2 separate regions of the Homo sapiens genome follow, and region 1 is linked to region 2. Evidence: promoter capture Hi-C in 16 types of primary human blood cells and fetal thymus (Javierre and others, 2016). All regions are on one chromosome and are shown on one strand. Each heading gives the region's core, a stretch centred on a gene start or on the middle of the fragment in contact. The rest is flanking DNA. Distances are from core to core; before and after follow the strand shown. Region 1 overlaps DNAJC10 (DnaJ heat shock protein family (Hsp40) member C10). Region 2 holds the start of FRZB (frizzled related protein).

What was found. Contacts are between HindIII fragments. The CHiCAGO score rates a contact against its expected background, and 5 or more counts as called.
Region 1: a contact is called between a fragment that was not itself captured here and the fragment with the promoter of FRZB in region 2, in 1 of 17 cell types (megakaryocytes). The highest score is 5.5, in megakaryocytes.

The regions. Positions count from the first base shown.
Region 1 is chr2:182,763,653-182,767,479 of GRCh38, forward strand. All of the region lies in intron 22 of DNAJC10 (DnaJ heat shock protein family (Hsp40) member C10), which reads left to right. Among named protein-coding and RNA genes, the nearest start is that of DNAJC10, 49 kb to the left of the region's middle. The HindIII fragment of the contact is 928 bases long and covers 1,174-2,101 here.
Region 2 is chr2:182,864,897-182,868,847 of GRCh38, forward strand. FRZB (frizzled related protein) reads right to left here and starts at 1,741. Exons shown (of 6, transcript NM_001463.4): 1 at 1,179-1,741. The coding sequence starts at 1,656. RefSeq lists an enhancer at 904-1,872. The HindIII fragment of the contact is 6,424 bases long and covers 1-3,951 here.

The sequences.
Region 1 (3,827 bases), core at 388-2,887, 100 kb before region 2:
ACAAATAACATACACACAGTGCCTCAGTATTTTTCCATGCCCCGACCTCAAATGCCACGTACATAAGGTTGAATATATTGCCATGCTCCCCCGATGTCTCCCTCTTCTTTAATTCTTAGCACATGCTGGTCATCCAATGCAAGGTAAACTTCTATTGTTCTTCCTTGGTCATAGATACGTTGGGTGGCAGCACAGAGCCGTCTGCAAATGCCTAGCAAACAGATAAAAAAAAGAATAAGTACAACGGCCATCACCTAAATGCATATGTTTAACCCAGACAACCAAGTGTTGGGGTTTAACCAATGAAAACTTTCTTGTAATTGCTGAAGGGTACTTGTTTGTAGTTGCTGTGACTATTCTTCAAGTTGTTCAATTTACACTCAAGAGTGGAAATTTGAGAAGACAAATAGTCGTGATAAGCCCCTTGCAGATGTGCTTTCACTCTCTCCCAAGCATATTGGGAGCTATTATATGGCAGAGGTGTGACACAGAATTATATTGCCAATCACAATGTAAATTTTGACGGGTAATGAATGCCTGCTGCTGATCCCCTAGCCATTCAAAAGTGGCTTCAAGGGTCTCTAAGTGAGACAAAATAGTTTTATCAATATTTACCTATTCCTGAAATTCATGGGTTACATTATATACCATGTGGCTTATCACTGAGGCTGTGTGAATAGATTCTGTCAGAGAAGCAGTTGCAGTAGCGGCAGTTGCTAATATAATAATAGCTGAGAGTAAAAAGGCAACTGAAGTGGCCAGAAATCTTATTTTTCAAGTATGAGACAATGCTTTTCTAAATAGGTGCAGGGTGGAATCCTCTTCCTAGCTCCAAGTTAAATTTACAGGCAGCCACCATTCTGCATGCCATTTTAAGATCATGACACAGGTTATATTTAATTATGTAACGTTTTGATGAGAGAAGCATGTAGCATACCAACTACTGGAAGAGACTTTAATACTATAAAAGGATTGATTCTGCTCTATGTTAGGAACACCTTGCCGAAACAAAAGTATATAAGGGTGCATAGTACAAATCAAGACTATGTCGGTAACATTATTATGCAGAGAGAGGGTATAGTTGCCACCGCTAGTAATATACTCACCATGGGAAAGAACCCATTCAAAAAAAGGAAGTCCTAATCTCCAAATCTGGGTATGAGCATGGCTTAAAGCTTGTTTCCCTTTTACTTGTAATATTGGTCCTAAAAGCCCATACTCTGACCAGATGATAGAACTATTGGAGGGACTCCTAAATCCAATAGTCTGATCTGCAGACATAAGATTACCATGGGGACCCTAATCAAGTAAGGTGTCATTATCAAACAGAGGCTCTTGATGCAGCGCAGGCTGTTTGCATGGCGACCACTGGATGGCCTCACACTTATATCGCCAGTCCGTACTCAGACAGCATATAGGAAGATCAGGCACTTGTGTAGCTTCATTAGAGACCTCAGTAAGATTAGTGCTAACAGCAGACATAAAGGTCAAGTTTGCAAACTTAGTATCCCTTTGGGGCTGGTAATAAAGATACTCCTGAAGAATGAGAGTAACACACTTATCATGTGCTATTATGGGGAAAAAAAGGGGGATTACTAGACAATAAAATCAAGTAGTAATTAAGTTTAATCCATCCCAAATTTTCAGTTAAGGGGTAAGACAGGGGCATCTATCAACCTCCTGTCCCAAAAGTATCATTGGATGACAAAGGCAGGTCAGCATCCCACCATGTAATAACATTAAAAACGGGGATTTAAAACATGACTCCAATAAACATGTTCTTGAGCTGATCCCACTTGGCAAAGGACAAGAATTGCCAGCCACCCCAACATCCATGTTTGTCTTACTTTCTCAGAAGTTTCCCCAGTTACCACCAGATACTTAAGAAACCGATTCCATGCGGTTGCGAGGGCTTCCACAGCTGCAAGCCAAATAGATGCCTGTTGATTCAATTTCTTTAGCTGTCCCCAGGTAGTGTTAGGTGCCTTCCAAGTCATCACCTTCATTGTTGTGGTCGATTCTCTAACAACAGGTCCTGTTCTCGAAAAGAGAGCCCCATATTCCCCGTTTTTTGTTTAAGATATATATTAAGAGTTTGATAAGCTTGTTTAACAATGGCTTGACTAGTTGAGGTATAAGGAATACTAGTTTTGTGTTGTATGTGCTAAAGTTGCAATGCATATGCAAATCGAGCACTAAGCTAGCAAGGTCTATTATCAGGTTTTATAGTTTGTGGAAGGTTTAAAGTTATAATGGATTCAAATAAATGACCAATTGCATCTTTAGTTTTTTTTCTGGTCTGGGGGTAGCATGTATTAGGCCTGTGTAAGTGTACACGGTAACGTGGAGAAATTTAAAACGTTTAAAGGGTGGATACTGAGTAACATCAGTTTGCCAAATAGCATTAGGCACCAGACCTTGTAGGTTGGCACCAAGCCTTAAGGAAAAAGGGGAAAGAGAATGCTGTTGGCAATCAGGACAAGTTTTAATAATCATGCGAGCTTGAGCAAGTGTCAAATGAAACTGTTGTTTAAGAATCCAGGCGTTCTGATGAAAAAAATCATGATCAGCTGGACTCGCAAAAAAGCAGGAGAATCTGCAGACCACATCTATGGTCATACTAGAGCATCACCTTGAGCATTCTTTTCTGATAAGGGACCAGGTAGCTTAGAATGAGAGCGAATATGTATGATGTAAAGAGGGTGATGATGGGACCGAGGAGCTCTTGTGCTGGAAGAAACAAAGCTAGTAGGGGTTCATTAGTAATGCCCTTCACATGTGCAAGATTTAAATGAGTAATACTATACACCATGTAAGCAGAATCACTAACTATATTTATGTCTTGGTGAGGAAAAGTTGGTTGCATGCTGCCTTCTAGGTTTTATCTCAGATAGCTCTGGCTTTCTTGCTACCCACAGAGGCCTGGGGCAGGAGAGTTGCTAAGATGCAACTAACTTTTCCTTATACTCCAGGGAAGCAGAAAAAAGACACGGCCAGAAAGGCTGATGCTGGAAATAGGAAATGAGAACTTGCATATTAGGAAGACTGTCATAATCAGCCACTTTCCTTCCCTCCTGTAGGCACCCCTCCAGCAGGGAAGTTTGTTGAGGAGACGCAGCCACCTAATCATACAAATGTTCGCTGACCGGGGGTATAATCTAAGAACTGTCACTTGGGCGGCCTCTAATCTACTTAAGGGGGATGGGAGGTGCTGTTGCCTGAACGGGGCCAACAGATGCAGGTCCCTTTAAGGTTGGAGGAAAGAAAGGCAATGGCTTTTCTGTAGGGGGAGGAAAAGGCTCCAGTCTGTCCTTATCCTCACTAGAAAAAATATACTCCTTATGCCCTACAGAAGGGAATCAAGTAGAGAGAGGAGCACCCCCGTGCTGTTCTGGTTCCTGTTTTTCCTCACTAGAAAAAATCTCTTCCTTATTCCCCATAGAAGGGAATGAAGCGTAGAGTGGAATCTCTCCCTTTAAATCTTCCAAATTCCTTTCAGGTGGAGATAATGGGCGATCTGGTGGGTAAAGAGGATACCACGCAGAGCGTACCGGTGCCCAGGTGGCCAAAATAGTAGCGTTAATAAAATGACCTTGCTCATTTCCTCTTTTCAGGCAGTGACCTACCTGCTTCCATAACCCTAAATCTAAGGTTCCGTGATCAGGAAACCAAGGGCATTTCTGCCAAATTAAAAGCATAAGCTTGTGTAGAGCTCCAGGATCTACAGTGCACTGGATAGCCTTAAGTAGCTGTTGCACTGTTTTAAAAAATACTTTCTGTTCTTTGGTCATTTCCTGACCCATGATAACCCAACCCCTGGTATTTTA
Region 2 (3,951 bases), core at 491-2,990:
GAGGACCACTCATGAAAAAAAATTGCCTTCTTTATAAAATATATGAAGGGTAAAATTTGAGGTTGGGTTAGTTGGTAGAAGTAATACTGAGTTAGAATTAAATGGACCATAATGAAGTAGGTTTAGTTGGGGTCTTAAAGTTACAAATGTCATAATTAGACTAAACACTAGTGAGAAAACAACTTGTGATTGACTCCATTAAATTTAGAGCTGCAATAAAGTTTTATGGTAGGGAAAGACTGAAATGACTGTGGTTGGTGCACACACGGAAAAGGAGCATGAAATAAGGTATTAAAGACAATTTTTTTTTCAAAACATGAGAGTGGAATAAGGGGTGAGATTTAAAATAACATTACGTGAGTGTATGATAACACGCCTTAAATATAACTCCTTTCATCTGTATGCCACTTATAAAATGACTTGAAGGCATGTGGGCATGTGAAAAGAGCTCAGTAATTTCAGTCTGCCAGCTCTATGGCAAGCCACAGAAGCTAATTAACAGTGCATAGCAATGTTTCACAATTGTTTCATTCTGGAATGGAAGAACAATTTATCTCATTGAAAGGAGGGGGAAATTTAAGGTGAAGGTAATTGCTCAAACTGGATCTTGAGCAAACACATACCCCTAACATCTGTCGGTTAGAGTAAGGTTATTGAAATTATCTTGGCATTTTTAATTAGAAGAAAATGGGGCTTCAGTTTTCTGTTTCCTCCACACAATCTTAACAAGCATCTAAGACACTAAAGATACAGAAACCTGATGACTGAGATTGCCTGAGAATCAGCAAAGAAAACCCAATGATTATAAACACATTTTAAAAGAAAAAGAGCATCACTTTACAAAATGTGGCTACTTGCACATGTAAGGAGTTGAAGTGAAGGATTCCTGTGGAGTAGAAGTGTGATGGGTTTGGAATGCATGGATTGTTTTAGAAAGATCGCCTATTGGAACACAGTGCCAGAGTGCATCAGTTTGGAAGGTGATAAGGTGAGGGTTTTTTTGTTTTTGTTTTTGAAAAAAGAAGAAAGAAGAAGAAGGGTCTTTGATAGAGGAGCAGTTATGGGAGAGATTAAGTGATCCGAAGAGAAAAAAATTAGAGAGTAAAGGCTAGTAACAAGGACTCCAAGAATTGAGGAGGCTGTAGGGTAAGGGAAGGGTGGGCCGTGTCAAAACTCACCAGCTCCGTCCGCAGTAACGATGGCCTCGGGAGAGATGCACACGCCCCTGTCGTACACTGGCAGCTCCTCGCAGGCCAGGTTCTCCGGCCACGAGTGGCGGTACTTGATGAGTATGGGCTCACAGCCCTGCCGGGCCCGCTCGCACACAGACTTACAGGGCTTGATGGGCTCGTGCTGGAAGTCAATGGTGCAGATGGGCGCGTACATGGCACAGAGGAAGAAGAGCAGATCGGGGCTGCAGTGGGTGCCCAGCAGACCTTCGAACTGCTCGATGGCCAGGATGGCGTTGGCCTGAGTGCTGTGGTGCAGGTGGTTGGGCATCTTAGTCATGTTCCAGGGCAGGGACTTGCACAGGGGGATGCGGACGGGCTCACAGGCTGCAGCCCGAGCCCCGGGCACCCGGAGCAGGCAGAGAGCAGCCAGGGCAAGCAGCCCGGCCCGCAGCAGCAGCATCCCTCCCGGGCTGCCGCAGACCATGATCCCGGCAGGATGGGGCAGGGTGCAGCCGCGCAGTGGACGCCAAAAGGCCCGCTCCGCCGTCTCCGCCTCCCCCGCTGCAAGTGGACACAAGGATCTGGGAGCTTCTCCTCCCCCGGCAATCACCGCTTCCTTGGATCAAATTCCCCCAATGGGGTCCCACGAGCTTTACCGAGCTCCAGCCACCGCCCCTGCCGCCCAGGCTGCTCTTTCCCAACGTCTAAGCCTTCGGAAGCAGCAACATCTATTTATTCCTCTCCCTCTGGCAGAAGCATCAGACTTCGCAGATCAGTCAGATAAGAGGGACACGAGAGGAGGCGAGGAAGACATAAAAACAAAAGTAGAATTCAGCTGAGAGCTAGTTGGAGCTCTGGGGTGTCTCCTCCCCTAGATCACGCACACAAAAAGATGCTAAAGAAAGCATTAAATTCCCCAAAGTGAGGAGGACAGAGGGGTTGGGGGGAAGGAGGGAGGAAAAGCTCCTAATGGGAGAGAAGGGTGCAGTAAGAGTTTACAAGTCCTGTGTGGGCTAAGAGCTGCGGCCGCCGCTGCGGCTGCGACCCTGGCTGGCAGGAGGGACGCTCAGGAGGAGCCCCGCAGGGACGTCTGTGCCTCTGCCCGGGCGGCTCTGCACTTTCCTACCTCCCGCCTGAGAGGGAGCTCCGCCCCTGGGGCAGTCTCTGCCCTCCAGTGCCGGCTGCTCTTCCCGAGAATGGAGTGGGCGCCCGGGGAAGAGAAGGCCTGGGAGTCGCAGGCGGTGGGGTGCGAAGCCGTGCGAGTGCGAGACCCCAAGACAGCGCCGAGTCGAGCGCGCCCTCACACTAGGGAACCCGTCTTTGGCCCCAGAAACGAGCCCCTAGCCCCTCACTGAAGAGCCCACCCCAATTCCCTACGGAAAAGTCCCCCTAGTTCCCCACTTGGGAACCCACCCGAGACCCTCCTTCCTGGAGGTATTTCCTTTAAGCAAACTACAGCTTTTCCTCTGCAATCACTGGCTCTGCAGAAAGTCAGACCTGGTGGGGGGAAAGGCTTAAGCAATGTCACTTTGTCCAAGTAGCGGAAAACACAGACCCCTGCGAGCAACGGTGGAGCCATATCAACCCAGAGCTAGTGACTACAGAGGTCTCCATTTTCAATAACTGCGGGGGAGGAGGTGGGGGGAGGATTGCCTTTAAAAAAAAAAAAAAAGAGAGAGAGAAACAAAGAAATGCTGTTCATGACTACAAATAGGCCACCAGAAGCAAGGAAAAGGGGTTTTTTCCTTCTATTCCCGCCCCCCCCACCTAGTGGAATTAGAACTCTTGAGCTTTGCTCCTTAAGGGTTAACGTGGAAACTAACAGCTCTAATACACTTGGACTTTTTTTTTCTGATTTTGCTCACGGATAACATGGCAGATATTATTTGTTATTCTCAGCAACAATTCTGCCCGACACTTAAAAAAAAAGTGTAGGAAAACGACATCACGCAGGTAATAATGATGATTATAACAACAATCAAAACCTTTCCATCCAGATGAGTTCAATCTGGAGGAGAAAATGGAAAACAGATCCCCTCCTGGTCTGCTTCTTCCACTAATGAGCTCCCTCTTCCCCCCACCCCCGCCCCACTCTACCCTTTCAGCTTATATTGTAAATGGAATGACCTGCAGAGGCCTTCACACTATGCCCTCTCAATGGGAAATCACTGAGCAAAAGGATTGCCGAATGTCAGAAAACACAGCCTTCATTGAGAGGAGAAGGAAACAAAACCTGAAACAAAACAGGAAGTCACCTTTGCTCTGCATCACTGAAATATTTCTCTGCTTCAATTTAGCCATCTCTCACCGTCCATAACAAGCAGAGAAATATGTCCCCACTTCAGAGCACATAGTGAGATGCTCATTTTCATTCCCTAGAGTGACTTGACAGCACTTATAAAATGTCAATGCTAACTTGAGTTATGGAATTTTATATCTAAAATGATCATAAACAGCAGTTTGTGACTGCTGTAAATTTTTTTGGAAGGAAGTTTGTTCCACTTATGGTGGCGGGGGCGGGGAACACCAGATGGTAGACAGGGAGTCAGTTAGTATACAAACTTTGCCTGGTCTACAATTATCTAGTGTCATGTAAGAGAACAAATTCAAAAATTGTACAAACGAATTTAAAATGATTTATCAAGTAAAATTTAGAGGAAAAACAACTTTAAAAGACAGTCAACATTAGAACATTTTGGGACTATTTTGTATAAGAAAAATATAGCTGAGATTTTCAATAATTAGAAGAAAAAACATCAGGAGTAGATGTAGTAGATTG